Linked DNA regions of Homo sapiens: all the other regions are linked to region 4. Evidence: promoter capture Hi-C in human tissues and cell types (Jung and others, 2019). All regions are on one chromosome and are shown on one strand. The core of a region is centred on a gene start or on the middle of the fragment in contact, and the rest is flanking DNA. Distances in the headings are between cores, read along the strand shown. Region 1 overlaps LOC105376136 (a long non-coding RNA gene). Region 2 overlaps SHC3 (SHC adaptor protein 3). Region 3 overlaps SHC3 (SHC adaptor protein 3). Region 4 holds the start of SHC3 (SHC adaptor protein 3).

Evidence for each region. The method cuts DNA at HindIII sites, captures the fragments that hold promoters and counts their contacts. A contact is called where the count stands out against the background at its distance.
Region 1: a contact is called between a fragment that was not itself captured here and the fragment with the promoter of SHC3 in region 4, in 2 of the 25 tissues and cell types used here (hippocampus and mesendoderm cells).
Region 2: a fragment that was not itself captured here is called in contact with the fragment with the promoter of SHC3 in region 4 in 2 of the 25 tissues and cell types used here (dorsolateral prefrontal cortex and hippocampus).
Region 3: a contact is called between a fragment that was not itself captured here and the fragment with the promoter of SHC3 in region 4, in 2 of the 25 tissues and cell types used here (IMR-90 fibroblasts and bladder).

Annotation. Positions count from the first base shown.
Region 1 is chr9:89,280,579-89,285,575 of GRCh38, reverse strand. LOC105376136 (a long non-coding RNA gene) reads left to right here. Exons shown (of 3, transcript XR_930101.4): 3 at 1-4,997. Among named protein-coding and RNA genes, the nearest start is that of CKS2, 28 kb to the left of the region's middle. RefSeq lists an enhancer at 3,007-3,525. The HindIII fragment of the contact is 3,248 bases long and covers 1,450-4,697 here.
Region 2 is chr9:89,087,944-89,093,318 of GRCh38, reverse strand. All of the region lies in intron 2 of SHC3 (SHC adaptor protein 3), which reads left to right. Among named protein-coding and RNA genes, the nearest start is that of SHC3, 88 kb to the left of the region's middle. The HindIII fragment of the contact is 7,637 bases long and covers 1-5,375 here.
Region 3 is chr9:89,063,337-89,068,558 of GRCh38, reverse strand. It overlaps SHC3 (SHC adaptor protein 3), which reads left to right. Exons shown (of 12, transcript NM_016848.6): 6 at 2,979-3,030. Among named protein-coding and RNA genes, the nearest start is that of S1PR3, 74 kb to the right of the region's middle. The HindIII fragment of the contact is 4,548 bases long and covers 1,562-5,222 here.
Region 4 is chr9:89,175,816-89,181,068 of GRCh38, reverse strand. SHC3 (SHC adaptor protein 3) reads left to right here and starts at 2,251. Exons shown (of 12, transcript NM_016848.6): 1 at 2,251-3,082. The coding sequence starts at 2,609. The HindIII fragment of the contact is 9,677 bases long and covers 1-5,253 here.

The DNA.
Region 1 (4,997 bases), core at 1,824-4,323, 100 kb before region 4:
CCCTTGGCTTGATTGTTCAGATTGACCAACAATTTCATGAGTTACTTACTACTGCTCCAGTGAGTTTCTTTTGTGCTCCAGTTAGGCCAAGGTTAATACCTGCACCAAATAACCATAATTGATACTTTTTTCTGTTGTATTGAAGTTAATCATTTATATGTTAGTCTTAACATATAAGGTTGTGTATATCCTGAGGGCAAGATCAGGTCCTGTTCCTTTTTGTCTCTCCAGGGCCTGCACAATGCTTGGCTTGTAGAAGGTACTGAATAGCTCCTAATTGTATTAATGGATACGATTTTTCTTTGTCTGATCTTTGGCAAATTCATTTGTCTATTACTTAAGTGGATATCTCTGTCCCCACCTACACTTTTCCTTCTGGTGCTACTTGGGATCTTAAATAGCCACAGAAAACCAAGTGAGAAGAGTGAGTGTGCTCTGAGGATGGTTTTGAGGGACTCTTATGAGGATTATAGTAAAATAATTTTATGTTATTTATTCTCACTATCCAGATACCTTTTACTCTAAATTTCTGCCAGCATGCTGATTTGTTGAGATTTGCAACACTAGAATTTTCCAGCAGAGCAGAGTATTGCTAGAACTTGTATCTCAAGCTTCTCTAGAACTGGCAACCTCCTTGGAGTGGCTCTTGAAGGCAATGCCCTTTTCCCAGGTAGTGGCAATGGGAAATCACTTTTCTGAGTGTCGTGGACACAGGTGGGAAGCCTTCGATTTCAGCCTAGGGTCATCTCTTCTATTCCAGGAAATGTTGGCTGTTTTCCACTTAAACTTGTTCATGCTTTTCAGGTCCCAGCTGTAGTCTTCAGAGATATTTGAAAATTAGCTGGTCTAAAACATGATTCTGGCAACCAGTGAAATGATAAAGTAGAAACTATTTATAAAAACAATACTTAAATTACGTATTTCAAATATGTAAATTTATTTGCTCTTTTAAATTTTATTTGTCCTTAGTGCTTTTTAATCCAAATCCATTTTAAACTCCACTGTTATATTCCAACTTATGTAGCATTATTCTGTGCTGTAGTTACACATAATAAATTAGTTACTGTCAGTTTACTTCATTATGCTTTAGTGGTTTACTCTTTCTGAGAATTCAATGAAGGTTTACTTTCTAACAATACCTACTAAAATATTACCAAAGTGAAGAGTATCACCAAGGAGTAAGGAATAACAGAGCCACAGGCAGCTCCAAGTCCCGCTTGTAGAGCTCCAGTCTCGGAACGTGGGATTGCCAGACCTGCCAAGTGGCCCCTTCTGCGTCAGAGAAAAGCAGGCTCAAGGAAAAGGCAGACTTGAGGCCTAGCCTCTTAATGTCCATGTGAAAGCAAGAGGCCAGGTGAAGTTTTTGGAGAGGAGTGACTTGAGTACTATTTTATATGAAATGTTTACTCGGGAGACAGGTTTTTTTTCCCACGAGATGAGGTGAGGAAGGCGCTTTTGTATGAACTGAATTTCAAATCCTCAGGGCTCATGGATATTTTTCCATGGAAAAGGAGGTTGAGAAGGGAGTTCCCCATGGGTGCTACCAGGATGAAAATTTGCCTAGATGTCTTTAGCTGGGGAGAGGGAGTCTGAGAGTTAGTTACGCCCTGTGTGTGTGTGTGTGTGTGTGTGTGTGTGTGTGTGTGTGTATGTATGTGATGGAGTCTCACTCTTTGTCCAGGCTGGAGTGCAGCAGCGCAATCTCAGCTCACTGCAACCTCTGCCTCCTGGGTTCAAGTGATTCTCCCGCCTCAGCTTCCCAAGTAGCTGAGATTACAGGTGCCTGCCACAACACCCAGCTAATTTTTGTACTTTTAGTAGAGACAGGGTTTTGCTATATTGGCCAGGCTGGTCTCAAACTCCTGATGTCAAGTGGTCCACCTGCCTTGGCCTCCCAAACTGCTGGTGTGTCCGGAATTGGTGGGTTCTTGGTCTCACTGACTTCAAGAATGAAGCTGTGGACCCTCGTGGTGAGTGTTACAGCTCTTAAGGTGGCACGTCTGGAGTTTGTTCCTTCTGATGTTCGGATGTGTTCGGAGTTTGTTCCTTCTGGTGGGTTCGTGGTCTCGCTGGCTCAGGAGTGAAGCTGCAGACCTTCCAGGTGAGTGTTAACAGCTCTTAAGGCGGCACGTCTGGAGTTGTTCGTTCCTCCCGGTGGGCTCGTGGTCTCGCTGGCTTCAGGAGTGAAGCTGCAGACCTTGGCGGTGAGTGTTACAGCTCATAAAAGCAGTGTGGACCCAAAGAGTGAGCAGTAGCAAGATTTATTGCAAAGAGCGAAAGAACAAAGCTTCCACAGTGTGGAAGGGGACCCAAGTGGTTTGCTACTGCTGGCTCCCGCAGCCTGCTTTTATTCTCTTATCTGGCCCCACCCACATCCTGCTGATTGGTAGAGCCCAGTGGTCTGTTTTGACAGGGCACTGATTGGTGCGTTTACAATCCCTGAGCTAGACACAAAGGTTCTCCACCTCCCCACCGGATTAGCTAGATATAGAGTGTGGACACAAAGGGTCTCCAAGGCCCCACCAGAGTAGCTAGATACAGAGTGTCGATTGGTGCGTTCACAAACCCTGAGCTAGACACAGGGTGCTGATTGGTGTGTTTACAAACCTTGAGCTAGGTACAGAGTGCCGATTGGTGTATTTACAATCCCTGAGCTAGACAAAAGGTTCGCCACGTCCCCACCAGACTCAACCCAGCTGGCTTCACCCACTGGATCGCGCACTGGGGCTGCAGGTGAAGCTGCCTGCCAGTCCTGCGCCCTGCGCCCGCTCTCCTCAGCCCTTGGGTGGTCGATGGGACTGGGTGCCGTGGAGCAGGGGGCGGCACTTATCGGGGAGACTCGGGCCCCACAGGAGCCCATGGAGGGGGTGGGAGGCTCAGGCATGGCGGGCTGCAGGTCCGGAGCCCTGCCCCGCGGGAAGGCAGCTAAGGCCCGGTGAGAAATCGAGCGCAGCGCCGGTGGGCTGGCACTGCTGGGGACGCAGTACACCCTCCGCAGCCGCTGGCCCGGGTGCTAAGCCCCTCATTGCCCAGGGCCGGCAGGGGCGGCCGGCAGCTGCGAGTGCAGGGCCCGCCAAGACCACGCCCACCCGGAACTCCAGCTGGCCTGTGGCGCGCAGCCCCAGTTCCCACCCGCGCCTCTCCCTCCACACCTCCCTGCAAGCTGAGGGAGCGGGCTCCGGCCTTGGCCAGCCCAGAAAGGGACTCCCACAGTGCAGCAGTGGGCTGAAGTGCTCCTCAAGTGCCGCCAAAGTGGGAGCCCAGGCAGAAGAGGCGCCCAGAGCGAGAGAGGGCTGTGAGGACTGCCAGCACACTGTCACCTCTCACTGGGATTACAGGCGTGAGCCACTGCGCCTGATCAGTTATGCTGTAAAGATTGAGAAAGTCTTGACCTGTTTCATACTGCTATAACAAAATACCTGACACTGGGAAATCTATAAAGAACAGAAATTTATTGCAGTTCTGGAGGCTGGGGCATCCAAGATCAAGGCACCAGCATCTGATGAGAGCCTTGCTGCGTTCTCACGTGGCAGAAGATAGAAGGGCAAAAGGGCAAAAACTCTCCTCACATTGCAGAAGAGCAGAATAGAGAGAACGCACTTCTGCAAGTCCTTTTTAGAACCACATTAATCTGTTCATGAGGGCAGAGCCCTCATGACCTAAGCACCTCCCATTTAGGCTTCACCCGTCAACACTGCTGCACTGGGATTAATTTTCCAACTCCTGAATTTTGGCGGACACATTCACACCATAGCAAACGATCATGAAGCCTCAACCCTAGTATGTGCCAGAACCACCCAAAGGATTTGTTACAAATGCAGGTTCCTGGGGACCGCCCCCGAGGGATTCTGATTTAACAGAACCTGAAAACCCGCATTCTTAATAAGCACCCCATGTGATTTCGGGTTGTGGATGTTCACTGGATCACACTTTGAGAAATGTCATGACTGTGACTTTAACAGACTTAAGGTTTGTCCTCAAGATTTTGTCTTGCAAACCTTTTGTTAGCCTTGGAATATAGTCAACAGCGATCGAGAAGGGAAATGAGGAGATCCACAGGTTCCCTCTCCAACATTAATGTCCATGTCAACTAGTAAAGCTTTGCATACTGCCCCTGAACTCTTTGCCCTGATGCTGGTTCTTCCTGATTTCTGAGGACAGATGGAAATCCTGACAAAAGTGAGAATGAGGACTGGAAACAGCAGATAGGATGATATGCATTCCTGGTCACTACTTGTTGTCCTCCACAGCCCTTGGCCTCAGTGCTAGCTGTCTTCCTGCCAACAGGATGATACAACCAACAAGTAGAAATGCTTGCGTGGCCTCTAATGAATTTTCAACAACATGATACAGATCAAAAGCTCTTCTGTACACTGATCATGTGGGTGAGTTCAGATTACACGTGGTTGCATTTTAATTCACTAAATTGAAAATTACATTTTATCTTTTGAAATATTTGTTCCCTTCAGTGAGTCATTCTAATAAATGTAACCTGAAGGCCAACCGATCCTTTCCTAATTTAGACGACTTAGAAGGTTTAGCCAATGTTGTTAATGTACTTCTTTTGAGGCAGTGTTCCCTCCAAGTTCAAGGAGAAATGAAGAAAAATATATCTTTTGAAAATAAGGTCTGGGGCGCCGTGGCTCATGACTATAATCCCAGCACTTCAGGAGGTTGAGGTGAGAGGATAGTTTGAACTCAGAAGGTCAAAACCAGCCTGAGCAACATGGTGAAATCTTGTCTCTAATTAAAAAAAAAATTAGCCAGGCATGGTAGCATGCACCTGTAGTCTCAGCAACTTGGGAGGCTGAGGCGGGACAATCACTTGAGCTCAGGAGGTTGAGGCTGCAGTGAGCTATGATCATGCCACTGCACTCCAGCCTGAGCAACAGAGTGAGACTCTGTCTTAAAATAAAAAAATAAGAAAAAGAAAAGAAAACATAACACATTTTTTTAAAATCAGGAAGATGTAATGTAAAAGAAACACATCAATAAAC
Region 2 (5,375 bases), core at 1,618-4,117, 88 kb after region 4:
CTGCCTTTTCTAGAATTTCCTGTAAATGGAACCATTCTATGCAATTCTGTACAAATGGAATTATTCTGTACAAGATTTTATGTGTCTAGCTTCTTTCACTTAGCTTAAGGTTTTGAGGGCTACCTGTGTTGTGTGTTATTGCTGGTAGGAATGTGAAATTGTACAGGTGCTTATGAAAACAGGTGGACTGTTTATTATAAGGTTAAAGATAAATCTACCATGCTATTCAGCAATAAAAATGTATGTCCACAGTATGTCCATGTTCATAGAAGCATTCTTTGTAATGGACTCAAACTACAGCCCAATTATCCATCAACTAGTGAACAGATAAACACATTTTGATATGTGCATGATACAAATACTACCCAGCAATAAAAAGGAATGAACTACAATGAACTACCAATGCATGCAACAACATGAACTGATTTATTTTTTTAAATTAAAACAATAGATGCTTTTCATAATGAGTCAAACAAGATAAAGGTATAGAAAGAAAAGATAAAGATGACCAGTGTTAATAGCTTTCCAGATTTTTTGGTATACACACACACACACATACACACACACACACACACACACCTTCCTTCTTTTGTGTTAGAAATGGGAATCATACCATCTTCATCATTCCACAATCTACTTTTTCCTTGAATGGATCAGTAGATTGGGGCCTAAAACCTGATTTTTTTTTTTTTTTTTTTTTTTTGAGACAGAGTCTTGCCCTGTTGCCCAGGCTGGAGTGCAGTGGTGCAATTTGGCTCACTGCAAGCTCTGCTTCTGGGGTTCACACCATTCTCCTGCCTCAGCCTCCCGAGTAGCTGGGACTACAGGTGCCCGCCACCACGCCTGGCTATTTGTTTGTATTTTTAATAGAGATGGGGTTTCACCGTGTTAGCCAGGATGGTCTTTATCTCCTGACCTCATGATCTGCCTGCCTCGGCCTCCCAAAGTGCTGGGATTACAGGCGTGAGCCGCTGCGCCAGGCCAAACCTGATTTTTTATAGTTGCAAATCATATGGCTGTATGATAATATAGTCAACAATTCCTGGTTTTGCTTTCTTTTGCTAGGCAAAACAATGCTGTGAGGACCCTCAATGTCCCTACACCCTTCTGTGCTGAACCACACTCCAACAGGTGGGCCGCTGCAGATGACTCCTGAAATTCACATATCACATGCAATTTAGGAAAGTGGCCCTTTCTTCACAACTATGCAGCACTGAGTGCTAATATTGCTATCAACCAGTTTTATCATCAAAACAATAGTTGCTATTGTTTTCCTTTGAGTGTTTTTGCATACAGAAATGTGAACACTTTTTCACATCCATGTGCTGTCTGGTTTCATTTTCTTTCTTATGAATTACCTGTTCACTTCACTTACCCATTTTTTTTATTGGAGTCTCTTTACTTTCTTATCAATTTGTGGGAGTTTTTGCATATTTTGTATGTGCTGGTAATATCTTGCCATATCATTTAAAAAATGTTTATTAGACAGTAGCTGAATTCATGAAGATAGAAAGTAGAATAGAGGTCTCCAGGGGCTGGCCAGATGAGGCAGTGGGGAGTTATGTGGAATTATTATTTAATGGGTACAGAGTTCAGTTGGGGAAGATGAAAAAGTTCTAGAAACAGATAATGGTAATGGTTGCACAACAATGTGAATGTACTTAATGCCACTGAACTGCACACTTAAAAATGGTTAAAATGGTAAATTTTATATTAAAAAATGTTTTATTAGAGTGCATCCATCAGCCATTCCTTTATGGCTTGTAGTTTTCCTGTCTTGACAATCTCCTTCACTGTAGATCAAACTAATCTTCTAATATTTTCATTTATTTTACTTTGTATGTATGGATTTTTAGTTTACCTGTAATAAGATAGCCAGTTAGGCCCAAATCTCCCCACTGTGTTGAAATGCCATTGGACTGTATGTTAAATTACCACACACTCTGTTTCTGAACACCTAATTTCAGTCCACTGGTAACATTTGTTTTCTGCTGATGCATTTGTTTGTGTGCCATTAACTTCTGGTTCTGATTTTGGTTGTGTTATAGTCATGTTTTTCATCTGGCAGAACATATTTCTCCTTGCTATTCTTCCTTGTTGTTTTAAAATTTTTCTTCACAATTTTTGAAATTTCTTATGCACTCTAACATATTGTTCAGTGCAAAAAGATATCAATTAGGATGACAATTATAATTCAATTAAATTGATAAATTAATTTAGGGAGAATTTACTTCATAATAATGTTTCATCCTTATCTCTGGGAACATAGCATGAGTTTTCATGTGTTCAGATCTTGCTTTATGTCCCCCAATACCATGCTATGCTTTTCTTCACGCAGGCTATATCTGACTTGTTATGCCATGTCTTGCACAGTTTTGTCCTAGATGTGCCTGGGGGATCCCCACCCCACCCCGTCATTTCCATTTCTATTAGAGGGAAAAGATTCTTCCTCATTTCGCTCTGCATCAGCAAACCCTGATATTCATTTCCTTGTAGTTTTCACTACTTAAATCTTTAGGAAAGTCCTCTCACCTGGCATTCATGATACCACCCATGTTGATTTCTTGCCTGTTTTCTTGGGTTCCCTGTTGTGGGTCCTTCTGCAGGCCACTCACTCCCCTTTCTCTGTGGCTGCACCCTGGTGCACCCCCAATCCGCATGGGCTCAACTGACCTCTCTCTTCATCATTTCTGTGTGCTCAGCTCACACTCTCCTCTCTCAAACCTCCTCAGCCTCCAAGGCCCTGTGCAGCCTCACCTCCTGGGGGAAGCCTCCCATACCCACCAATCCCCTGGAGTGACAGCAAAGTGGCAGTTATTGATCACACTGACCTCAGCATTCTACTTAACAGAGCAGCCGGCCAAAACTAGTGGGGTGGCAGTCAGCTTGCATTCAGGTGCAGAATTACTTCCCAACCATAACCTTACACTGGGAGGCCATGGTCTTGCCTTTCTCCAAAGCCGTTGGCACATCAGGTGGCATGATCTTTGGCTGGATAATCTTTGTCACTTCTCTCCACTGCATGCATCTAGTCTCATGTTCTCATGTCACAGAGAGCCCAGTTCAAGAGCTTTGTGGTCTTGGCCAATGTCCTGGACTCTCTTTGCCTCTGGAGGAGAGAGAAATGGGTGGAGATAAAATTTTATATATAATATGTGGGTGGAGATATATTTTATCTCCACCTTGGAGTAAGGGCAACATCCACATCTCCTACTGTCATAGAAATCAAATGAGATGCTGTCTGCAGGGCCTCGCTGACCGTGATTTATCCATGCTGGCGCTCAGGGCTCCGTGTGTTTGCTCGTGGGCCTGAGGATGTGCATGGGTGGTTTTTAAAGGCAGGGCAGGTAAGTTTAGTTTAGTGTTTTTCCTCTAGAGCTGGCGGCCCTGCCCGGCAGGCCTCTGGGTGACGCACTCTGCCTTGCCTGAGCCGTGGCCCTTGGGGGCTTCCTACTCCTCACTCCAAGAAGGTGCTGGCTGTGGTGTGACCTCCTGGGTCGCTGTGTGGACTGCTGAAGTCAAAGCAGTCAGGGGCTCCTGTGGGCTCTGACCCCTCCCCATCCTCATGCCCCCAAGAAGACTTGGGACCTGGGAAAAAGTGGCTCTGAAGCCTGGAAGAGCTCAATTCAGATTTTGACTCCACCAATATTGTGTGATTCTGGGAAGAGTTAAGACCCTCCTCTGAGTTTATTTCCTTTAATTTTGGTTTACTTTTCCCAAATGGGAAGGATCACTCCTTTGTCTTAGGTATGGTGGTTCAGTGTGTCGGGGGGCATAAAACCCAGCAGCTGCCCCCTTGCCTAAGGGCAGTGCTGGCTTCTGGTGGTGTGTGAGCTTTAAGGTCTGGAGCTGGTTCTCAAAAAGCTGGACACTCTGCCCCAGGTCCCAGTTCCCTCCTGCTCCACCCCCCAGGCTCCAAGATCAGCGTTGCACATGGCACCTAACTCCAAGATCAGCGTTGCACATGGCACCTCCAAGATATACTTCCTAGAAATTTTATTCTGTCTCACTCAGGTCCTTTCTAAGGTTTCCTCTTTCTTTCTCTCTTCCTCCAATTCTATCAGTGGGGCTTCTTTTCACATGCACATAGAAATACACAAATATTGATAGAAAGAGGTCAGAGATAAGGACTAAGATGGGACAGCCAGCTTCTGGTGCATCATCCAGTAGAACTGCCCTGGAATGGACAGGCTCTGTGCGGTGATCAGAAAGGGGAAATACCTCTCGAAGGCAGATTCTGCCACAGAACAGTGCCACCGAGTCGATAGCACCGTCTAAATAAATACTTGCAGGAAGTGCCCCTCCAGCAGGAAGCTTTGCAGATGAGGAACACCGTTCACAGTTTGTGAAGAATAAACCAGCATCTTCTCTCTTGCCTTGCAGGTGTGGTCTCACCCAGAATGGTTCCTGCTGCTTCCGCGGTGCCCAGGCTTTTCTCACGGCCTCTGCTGGGTTCTCCCCTGGGTGCTGTGGATGCATCCTGCCTGCTGGAAATTCTGTGCTCTCTGTTTCCATCCCTTTGTCGTGGTAATGACCGTATACCTCTCCCCTGTACCCTCCTCTGCCTGCTCTCCGTGCAGGCCCCTCTCCCTCTGGTTGTCCCATCAGCATTTCCCCACAGCTCGTTGTTCCTCCTTCCTCTTTTCTGGTGACCTTTCTACTGATTGCATTGTACCTCTTTCCCTGATATTAAAGATGTTTTTAAAAACAACAGACCCATTATGTCCATGGAGTTTTTATTTCTAAAGGCTTTATGTTGATTTCTTGTATTCTGTGTTTTTCATCTTTTTGACAAAAACAGTCAAACTCTGTAAAACATTTGAAGAGGTTTTTTTCCTGAGCCAAATATGAGTGACCAAGGCTGGAGACACAGTTTCAAGAGGTCCTGAGAATATGTGTTCAAGGTCATTGGGTTTTAGCTTGATTTTATACATTTTAGGGGAATAGAAGTTACAGGCAAACATCAATCAATACAAGTAAGGTGTACATTGGTTCAGTCCAGAAAGGCAGGACAACTTGAAGCTTCTAGACCATAGGTGGCTTGAAAGATTTTCCTGATTGGCAATTGGTTGAAAGAGTTATTATCTAAAGACCTGGAATCAAATGAAAGGAGTGTCGGGGTTAAGATAAGGGGTTGTGGAAACCAAGGTTCTTAGTATGTAGATGAAGCTTCCAGGTAGCAGGCTTCAGAGAAAATGGATAGTAAAGGTCTCTTAACCAACCCTAAAAGGTGCCAGAATCATAATTAAATCTCTCCTGGGTCAGGAAAAGACCTGGAAAGAGAAGGGGATTTTCTACAGAGTGTAGATTTTCCCCACAAGAGACAGCTTTGCAGGGCCATTTCAAAATATGTCCTAGAAATGTAATTTGAGGTA
Region 3 (5,222 bases), core at 2,586-5,085, 110 kb after region 4:
TAGTTACTTTCCATTTTAACCAATCCAAATGCATTTTATATTGTGCATGAGATTACATTCCAAATTGATTTGTAACCATGAATTTAGCACATTATAATTGGTAGACATTTTTAATAAAGCTGACAATTCTATATTCTAGTCCTTGTTCTCCTGCTAAGTGTACATGTCACTTATTGCTTAGTGCCTCAGTTTACCCAGTAGGAAAATGGTATTTTGAAATAGCAAACAAGATAGACTAGAAAACTTTATTAATTCCTCTCTAAAAACGGCATGCTGTGATTATAATCTACTGTAATTAGCAGTGTTAAAAGACCACCACAAAAATGCCAGAACAATGGCCAGGCACAGGGGGTCTTGGGGAGTGGGAACAGGTATAGAATAGATGCAGAACAGCACTTCTCAGCTCTGTCTTTGGAACTTAGTGCTTCCTGATGACAAGAATATTGTTTTGAATGGTAATATATTTGCCTGCTCTGCCAGAAAAGGATCAATATTGGCATCAGAAAAGCTTGGCCATTGACCATCTGAGAGACAGGGACATATTATGTCTCTCTATTCTCCCTCCTTTCCCAACTTTGAGCCAGAGTAAGAACGTAAAAAAATATATTCCTTGTATTCATTACTAATGCTGACTCTAATTTTGTTACCTGAATATGTGCAAAAACAAATTAAAAATAAACTTCTTTTATTTATACTTTTTATTTAACTCTCCCCCTACTTAAATTTGAAAGTTAAATACAAGTAAACATTGTAAGGCCAATGACATTCAATGTAATATTACTTTGCTATGATGGACAAAGTTCGCTGAAACTAAATCTCCATCTGAATGTGATGCTGGCCTGGCCACCATGGGGCAGAATTTTTTAAGTTCAATGTCTCTTCATTACCATGGGCACCTGGATGACTCAATTCTTCCACTAATTTCTTCTATTCAAGCAGAAACTTCAGTTGTACATCATGTACAAGTATAATGTCAATTTGCTTTATGTGGGCAGAGAAATCTACCCTGTGTCCTTTTCTTTCTAATTCTTTGAAAACCTAGCAATCATAATGTTGGAAATCCAGCTGCAAATCCTGGCATTGAAATTGTGTGCAGAACTTGATAACACAGTGGTCACCTAAATGATCCCAGTTACTCTTATATTAATTTTAAGATAATCATGGAAATGAAAATAAAAATTTTTTAAAATGCTGGTGCCACCTCAAACACTGGAGAAGACACCTGTCCAACCCTAGGGTTCTATGAATTTCAGCTTGAAATCTAGTGCTATCTTAGATGCTCTCTAAGGATCCTTCTGACATTCACGTCTTGTGAGTTCAGGAAGTGCCTATGATTACAAGCTGTTATCCTTGTTTTTGCCAATAACTTCAGATTCTGACTGGATCCTCCTTGATGGAAATGACCAGAAGCCAGTTTGACCAGGTGGACGATCTTTCATTTCCTTTCCCTAGTCAGCCTGTGAATACACCAGGGAACAGTGTCCTGAGCAGAAAAGAAAACAGCTTAGCTGAGCCACGCCCTGCAGAATGACCGGGGAAGCAGCACCATTGTCTCAAGAGCTGCTGGAAGAATGCTACACTGGTGTGGTCTTGTTGGGCTGTGTAAGATCCAGCGGGATGGGGTGTGGAAAAGTGCCCAGCACCACCCACCTGAACCTACAGCAGATGTCCCACAACAGTGACATGGCCACCCCATACTCATTCTCTCCCTCATCTCTCTCTCCTTGGAGAGCTTTTGTAGGGCACTGTTGAGAGAGAAGGGGATGTCTCCTTTGCCCATAGAGAAAACAGTGGAGCAAGTCACGACAGAGCCTTTTAGGTGCTGGCAACATCGGGAGCGTATCAATAACCTGGAAGCCCTTCAAAGCAATGACATATGGGAAATGTCTGCCAAAATGAGGTAGACTTTTATCAGTTGCCCCACAGAGTCTTGAATGCCGAAAATACCAACTTTGCAGAGGAGTCTTTTCTGCTTTCAGGAGTTAAGATAATTATTGGTTTCTCTGCTTATTTGTTTATGAATTAAAATGCATATGGTTGCCGTGGTCTACTTTTGAGGTCATCATTTTCCCTATGCACTGATTATATGAGAAGGCAGGCAAAGAAACTCACATTTCATATGGAAGGATGAGACTTCTCAATAGAGCTCATATTTTTAAAACATATTAAAGTATTAAGATCATTATTTATGTCCAAGAAGAAAATAACCATTATATCTCATCCACCAGGAAGGCAGCATTTGCAGTCAGCCTTTGAACATCCACTCTGGTTTTCTTCTAGCCTAGTGGTTCTCAAAGTGTGGCCCCCAGAGCAGCAGCAGCTAGAAACTTGACAGAAATGCAAATTTTGAGCCCTTACCCCAGAACTACTACCAAATTAGAAACTCGGGGGTATGGCTTAGCGTTCTATTTTAACAAGCCCTGCAGGGGATTCTGATACCAGCTCAAATTGGAGAACCACTGGTGTAGACAAAGCTGAGAGCAGTGGTTCTTAACATGTGGTTCACGTTACAGTCATCTAGGGAGCATCTAAAAACGAATGCACAGGCCTCACATCCAAACCAATTAAATGGGATTATCTGCATGTTGGGACGCAGGTATCAGTGTGTTTAAAGCTTCTCAGGCGATCCAACATGCCTTTTCTCCTTGCTGCTCAAAGTGTAAGTGGACTTCTAACCAGTTCCGGTGGGATACTGAGACACTGCAGCCTCAGTATACATGGGAGCTGGTTAGAAGTACAGGACCTCAGACCCTACCCCTGACCTGCTGAGTCAAAGTCTGCAATGTGAGACCTCTGGGTGGTTGCTACCCACATTATATAGCTTGAATCTTCTGGGGGCTGTTTCTTAGGCAGCATTTGATTCTTTAGCTGTTTGGTGGTTGAGTCCTTCTAAGCTCACTGGTTTGTGCCCTGTGTCCCTGACTGTGTGGTCTCTCACTTGTGATTAGTGACATAGACATCTCTTTTTTCTTTAACAGGACACAACTGACTATGTTGCATATGTGGCTAAGGACCCTGTTAATCGCAGAGGTAAGCGGTGCTTGACCCCTTTAATCTCTTGTTTGTGTACAGCCAGGCTTCACATTCTATACAAGCTGGTCCTCGTTATCTCAGCCCCCTCCCAACAAATGAGTAGTGCCATCTTGTATTACTAAGGATGAATGAGGTTTGCAAGGGTTGTAGATCGCTTGGCTGAGTTAGGAGGTACCGGACCTCTCTGACCACCAAACACACGCTTGTATCCAGATAGCTGGTTTGGTACAATTGATTTACACACAAACAGCCCCTGCCCATATTCTGACAGTGGCCTCGGTTACTCCTGGAAGACCACCTGCTGCCTGTCCTCCTGCCCAGCTTCAGCTCCTGGTGTGTGCCCAGTGCCCACTAAGCCACCCCTAGCTACTTCACTCTGCCCTGCCAGCCCTAGAGGTTAGTGTCTGAGCTCAGGCGCTGTCTGATTATATCCCTTTCAGCTTCTAAGTCTTCAGGAACAGGCTGGATGGGGGGAGTCATTTATAAAACCAAAGCCCATTGGATGGTAGCATACCTGGGGTGGCTGGGACTGACCAAGGTGCACTACCCTGGAGTTCCAGGCAGCTATTGATGCACCACACCACAGCTGCAATTTAAAACTCATTGATGAAATAACAAATGGAATTAATAACGGCACAAAACAGCACTCCCTTTCACTACCCCCCTACCCCAGGTACCAACTAAGATTTTCTAGTTTGCTTTGCATAATGCTTATCCGTATACATACCCTCTCTTTTTAACATTTTCATACAAATGAGATCCTAATATTCTGTTTTGCTACCTTACCCTCCAATGCTATACCTTGGATATATTTTTAAGATAGCCCATACGGAAGAGATGAACTGATCCATGATGCGGCCTTATGGAGAATCATCCCCCACGCCACTGCCTGGGGAGCTTAAAAAAACCTCAATGCTCAGGCCTCAGAGAGTGGGGCCCAGACAATACAATTTTCTAAAAGCTCTTCAGATGATTCCAAGGTACCGCCAAAGCTAGGAAATAAGGCTTAGGTCCAGATCCTGAAGGAGTTTAGCCCCGAGTCATTGACTTCATTTCTCAGGGGCAAACCAAGAGTACTTTCTGCCCACAATACAGTTCCTGTCCAGCGACATGGGAATCAGGATCGATTCCACATGTCCCGTGGCTGCCTCACCAGGCTCTCTCAGGTTTGCATGTGGTGATACTGTGAAGACAAATGCCAGACCTGTGATGCAGAAAAAGATCTCCACCATTTTTGGTGCTTGAGGGCACCACCAACACAGGGGCCCTCTTATGGACTGAATATTCACGTCACCCCCAAATTTATATGTTAAAATAGAAACCCCCAATATGATGGTATTGCATTAATTAAAGGCCCCAATTGAAGGTGATGTCTTTGGGAGGTCATTAGGTCATGAGGGGGAAGCCTTGTGAATGGGTTTGGTGCTCTTGTCAAAGAGACCTCAGAGAGCTCCCTCACCCTCTTCCACCCATGTGAGGACACAGCAAGAAAGCGCCGTCTGCAAACCAGGAAGAGGGCCCTCAGTAGACATCAAGTCTGCTGGCACCTTCCAGCCTCCAGAACTGTGAGAAACAAATGTCTGTTGTTGAAGTCACCCAGCCTGTGGTGTTGTTACAGCAGTCCCAGCTGATTAAGACAGGCCCTTTGTTTGAGACAGTTAGTGGGAGATACTCACTCTGTGTTCCCACCTATCTATTGCCTGTAACAAACTACTTCAAGCTTAGTGGCTTAACAACAACCATTTTATTATAATAGAATGTGGGTCAGGAATTCAAGCAAGTGTCAGCTGGTCAGTTCATCTGCCCAAGTGGCATCGACAGGGGTCATCGAGTGGTCTTTAGCTAGAGAGTCTGGGCTGGTCTAGGAGGTCCAAATTGGCTTTGCTTCCACACCTGGGACCTTGGCAAGGATGACTAGAGGCTCAGCCCTCTCCATGGAGTCTCAGAGACTCTCCAAGTGGCCCCTTCATCCCTCTGGGAAGTAGGGCTTTCTGTATGGCAGCTCTAGGTTCCATGAGACCCAGAGTAGATGTGTCCAGTGCTCTGAAAGGCCGGGCTAAGCTTCACTTCTGCCATAGATTTACTAGTCACAGCTGTCAGCCAGGTGTGGTGGCTCACGCCTGTAATCCCAACACTTTGGGAGGCCGAGGCGGGCAGATCATGAGGTCAGAAGACCGAAACCAGCCTGG
Region 4 (5,253 bases), core at 1,002-3,501:
TCTTGGAATATTAATTTCTGTCTTTGATTATATATCTTTTCATATATAGTAAATTTATGTTGCTATTTATATTTTAAAATGACCAATTTCCCTCCACTGGCCTCATAATAAAAGAAATAAAAGTCTCCTGTTGGCTAAACGTTAAGTACATAGCTTTGGATTTTTTTTCCTCCCTGGAGCCTCAGAACGTGTACAGGTGTCCTACATGCCTTTTACAAAAAAAGAATCAAGGGCTAGGAACCTAGGTTTTGAACGTGCATTCAATGTACATTCATAATAAAAGCTGAACGACTGGCACATTCATGGTTGCTCCTTGATGTAAATGAACGGCTGAATGAAAGTTTAGGGGCACAGCTCACCTCCAAGAGAGACCCTCTTCACACTTAGACCTGACCAAGGGATCTTGAATTCCCTTGTAAAACTAGCTTTTCCTCTCCATAGCAGCTGGCCTCTTCCTCCCGGTATCTTTGTAATCCGGCTGGGTGTTTTTTTTTCTTTTTCTTTTTTTTTTTCCCACACTGCCGTTGGATAAAAGATCCCGCCTTTGATTGAAATGGAATCTTCCACTATTGAGCAAGCCTTTGTTGAATGAGTCATCGGGGCGGCCGCTCATTGGCTGAGGCCGCTGGAGCCCAGGGGATTGCCTGGCACCGGCTGCAAGGCCCTGCTTCATTCACAGAAACGCTGGCTCGCTCGCTAGCCTTTTCATTCACACAAACAGCATTTCATTCACATTTTGCGGTTTTTGTCTGCATCTAATGAAGATCTCGCTTTGGGAATGATAGGGCTGTTTCGCTACAGATCTGGGGAGGACTCTGATAACCATCAAAATCATCTATGGGGTGTGCAATTGCTGTTGCTATGCAAGCTAGGGAAAGGGAACAAATGAGTGCCGTGTAGCTGTTCTGCTAGGGCTGCGGCACAGGAGGCGAGCCGTGGGGACGCGTTTCCTGTACCGGGGACGCCGCGGCTCCTCTGCGCTCTTGCGTCCTAGGGGTTGGCCTCACCCGCTCGCCCGCCATGAGTGGCGCTCATTAAACTCTGCTCCATAGAGCAGGGTTCAAGACTCAGGACCTCACGTGCCCCACATGTTCGGTCATGGGAGTGAGAGGACTCAGGGTGACCTGAGAGTGTGCTAGAGCTGAATTTATTCGCTTGCTCAGAAGTTGCGGGAAAACTTTGATAGTGAGTGTTTCACTGTGGAGCAGGTGATCCTAATGCATGAGGAAGCCTGGCAGAGCCCACTGAGGTCAAGAGTCAGAGGGCTTCAGTCTCGGGCAGACCTCTGGGGACAGCGAAAGCCTTGCTCTCCTAACTGAGAGGAAGAAGGCCTGTGCATTTTACTTGCAAGCCCGAGCCTGACTCCTGAAAAGAAGGCATATTTTCCTCCTTGTGGATTTGATGTGCAATAAGAACAGCTGCATTTTTTCCTTCCTGACTGCAGGGTTGCAAGCAGCAACTGAAGGAACATTGAAATGTATTTGTAGCATTTCTTAGGCGTTTTTCCAGAGCTTAAACACATTCAGTAGGATTAAAGCTTCAAATGCAGCCCCTTTTTTGGAATGGATTTCTGGAGCCTGTTGCCACTCGTGAAAGAAGCACTCTTCTTTTTTGGAAGTGGATATTCAACTTAACCCTGGCTGAGAAAGACTGCTGTAAATGAGCAGGGAAGACCCCTTGATTGGCACTGTGCAGAAGTTCATATGCAGATTTTTTTTTTTTTTTTTTTTTGAGGAACTGCATTGCCACAAAGACACTTGTCATCGCTGCTCTGTTAATTTGAAAAGAAAAAGCAAAACCCAGGAAATTGGTATTTTACAGTCACCTGGGGGTGAATATCCTTTTTGTTTTTTTCTATTTAAAAATTCCTGCTGCCTTCCAAGTCAAGATTCATCAGGATTCGCTGAAGATCTGATTCTTAAAAAGCCTTCGTCACATTTTAACGCATCGCTGTTAGACACTTTTACAGGCTCACACAGATGGGCTGAGCAGGGACGAGCAAAACCTAACAGAATAATGGGTTTCAGAAAGTTCATTTGACGATTTGAAGGAACTGGATTGGATTTACCTTTGGCACAAATGCAGATTGCGGGGGATGGGAAGGTGAAAAATCAAAGGTTGGAAGGAAATATCTGGGAAGGTAGAAAAAGGAAATTTGAGAATTGATTGGCTATAGTGTGCTGTCAGCGGGTGGATGTCGTTTTTTTCTTCTTTTTTTCCTTTTTTTTCTTCTGCTACAGGAAGTGATTTGCAGTGCTCACCGAGCCTTTGTTGAGAAGGGTCTCCTCTCAGAGTGAGTCATGCTTTTGCTGTGAGCAGCCCCAAGCAGCTGGGCGCTCCATCAGAGGCAACTATGACTTTTGCAAAGCAAACGTGCAACCCCAAGCAGCGGTCTCCCGGGCCGGGGCTGCGCGGCCGCCGCTGTGCTGGCTTTTAACGGTGGGAGGGCACCATCCTCTTGCTCTGCTCTCGTTCTCCAGAAGGCTGTCCCGGGGCCCCCACTCTCCGTCCCGCTCCGGGGACAGTGGCTCGCCTGCTATGCGCGGCAGCCCGCGCCGGGGCCGGCACCAGCAGCGCCCGGGCGGATGCAGCGAGCCCACGGAGGGGCATGCTTCCACGCACCAAGTATAACCGCTTCAGGAATGACTCGGTGACATCGGTCGATGACCTTCTCCACAGCCTGTCGGTGAGCGGCGGCGGAGGCAAGGTTTCGGCGGCGCGCGCGACCCCGGCGGCGGCTCCCTACTTGGTGTCCGGCGAGGCGCTGCGCAAGGCGCCCGACGATGGGCCCGGCAGCCTGGGCCACCTGCTCCACAAGGTGTCCCACCTGAAACTCTCCAGCTCGGGCCTCCGCGGCCTGTCGTCGGCCGCCCGGGAGCGGGCGGGCGCGCGGCTCTCGGGCAGCTGCAGCGCGCCCAGCCTGGCCGCCCCGGACGGCAGTGCGCCCTCGGCGCCCCGCGCCCCGGCCATGAGCGCCGCCAGGAAGGGCCGGCCCGGCGACGAGCCGCTGCCCAGGCCCCCTCGGGGGGCGCCGCACGCCAGCGACCAGGTGCTGGGGCCCGGAGTCACCTACGTGGTCAAGGTGGGTGCGGGCGCGGGCCGCCCTGGGGGCTGGGGGTTCTGGGGCCAGTTCGGGGCAGACTCCTTCATTCCCTGAAGCCCGGGGTGCGGGGCGCTCCCGCGACTGTCACGTTAGAGGCAAGCAAATGCGCACTCCTTAGCAATCAGCTCGCTTGACAGCGGTGAGGAGGGAACTACAAATGCGCTTTTCCCGCATCCATTGGGAAAAGGTTTACCACTCGGGTGGCCCGCTCCGTCCCGGTTTTCCCTAGGCTCCACTTTTTTGGCACGCCTTTGCCACCTGGCTTACCAGATGTCTGACCAGTGTCATGGGCGCCCAACCCTGGGCAGCGGGGGTCCGGCCTGCCTAGTATCTAGGAAACGCGCTGGGGAGAGCTGGGCAGCCCCCGGGAGGAGAGATGCACGGAGTGGCGGCCCTACTCCTGCTGTGTCTTCCCCGGCGGGAGGGTGGGTATCTTGTTGCCCCCCGCAGCAAGAATTCCCAGCTCCTTGCAGAGCAGGCCAAATGCTGTGCTGCTTTCTCTTCGACGGGCTTTACTTTCTCACCCAGTCCAGGTTTTCTTGGGGTTTGTCTTTCATTCCCTAAGGAAAGGTTCTGGTTTACAGCAGCGGAATGAGAATTCTGGGACTATTTTTCTGGTGACTGTAGTCTTCCATTTAAATGTGCTAAAAGGGAACTAGGGCGCTGCGCTTGGAGCCACAGGCTGGAAAGGAGTTTTTTCCTCCAACACAAAGATGATAAAATCACGATGTAGTCAATAAAATTCCACCCTTATGCAAGCATGTTATGATATTTAAGGAAAAATGCTCAGCACAGTTCAAGTAATCTGCCACGCGGTTATTTCCTTCTGCCGGTTGGGCAGCTCAGAGCTTTAACAGCCTCCACAGCCGAGCAGACAGGGGTTAAGGATGGAAGTTGCAGTATTTCAATCCTGCCACTCCAAGGCATGGCTTTGTATTGAGAAAGAAATGAGACACAAACTCTATCCCCACCGTGTCCTCAATAACACTGAGAAACCCCCAGGATGTCTGTTCCGTAAATATTGGCTGCAGATTCCAGTGTAAAAATTAAATAGAACACATCCTCAGGTAAAATGCAGTGTCTGGTAATTTCGGAACCAAAATATTAACAGAAATACTTAACTTTGTGGATTGCCTTTAACTATATAAAAAGTACTTACAGATGAATGTGGCCATTGTTGTTAAAAGAGGGCTTCTTCACCTTTTCAGTCTGCTTTTTAATTTAACCTTCAAACTATGGATTATTATATTTTACCAAAGGGGTATAGATGAGCATAATATATGCATATTTGGTTGAGTTTATTTTAAGAGGTACTGAATATTCTTCTTGTTTTGCTTATTTAAATTATATAACCAGGGGCCAAAACAAAAAGAAAAAAACAAACCAAACCAAAAATCCCTGACAGCTTTGAGGTTGTGTTTACTTCTGGGGTGTTAGCATAATTGCTGTTTTAAAAAGCCTACATTTCAAATAGACAAATAGACCTTGGCAAAGCTTTTTCTACCTGTCATATTAAACAGAGTAGTTTTCAAATTGAGGGAGAATTCTCAAACTTATGGCTTTAAATTTTTGTTTTAATCACTTTGCTTAGAACTTTGCTTTTGCTTTTTAAAGAAGGAAGGCCAGCATCAAGTTTGAAAGGTCAAATGTGGCAAAATAATGATGAATGTACGAAAATAAGACGGCTCTGCGTCGACAATCTGTTGCTGTAAGGTTTGTGACTTACTGGCAGCATCAGCAGTAGTATTCATAGTCAAAGGGCTGGATCTGCACAGAGCTTGTCTGTGTCTTGGGGTTACTTTGTGTTGCCTCAAATTTAAGGGGTTGCAGTGATGGGTTGAGGGGTGCATGGCATGACTAATTAGGGCTCTGTACCATCCATGTTTTGGTTCCTTGTTCATTAGCAGCCATGAATGGTGCTGTGATGTGAACATAAACGCAGGCATTGTCCTCTGCTGTCCTGGAGAAGTTTGAAATCACGCAGAAAGAAAACCAGATGCTAAAGTGTGTGTGCATGTTTGATTCAAATTATCACATGGCCCTCTGTTGGCGCACATGTGCAAATTCCCGCATTGCCCATGTTGAGTTTAAAACCTCGAACTTATTTTATTGAAAAATTGTTAAACTGAAAACAATCTTAATTTGGCGTT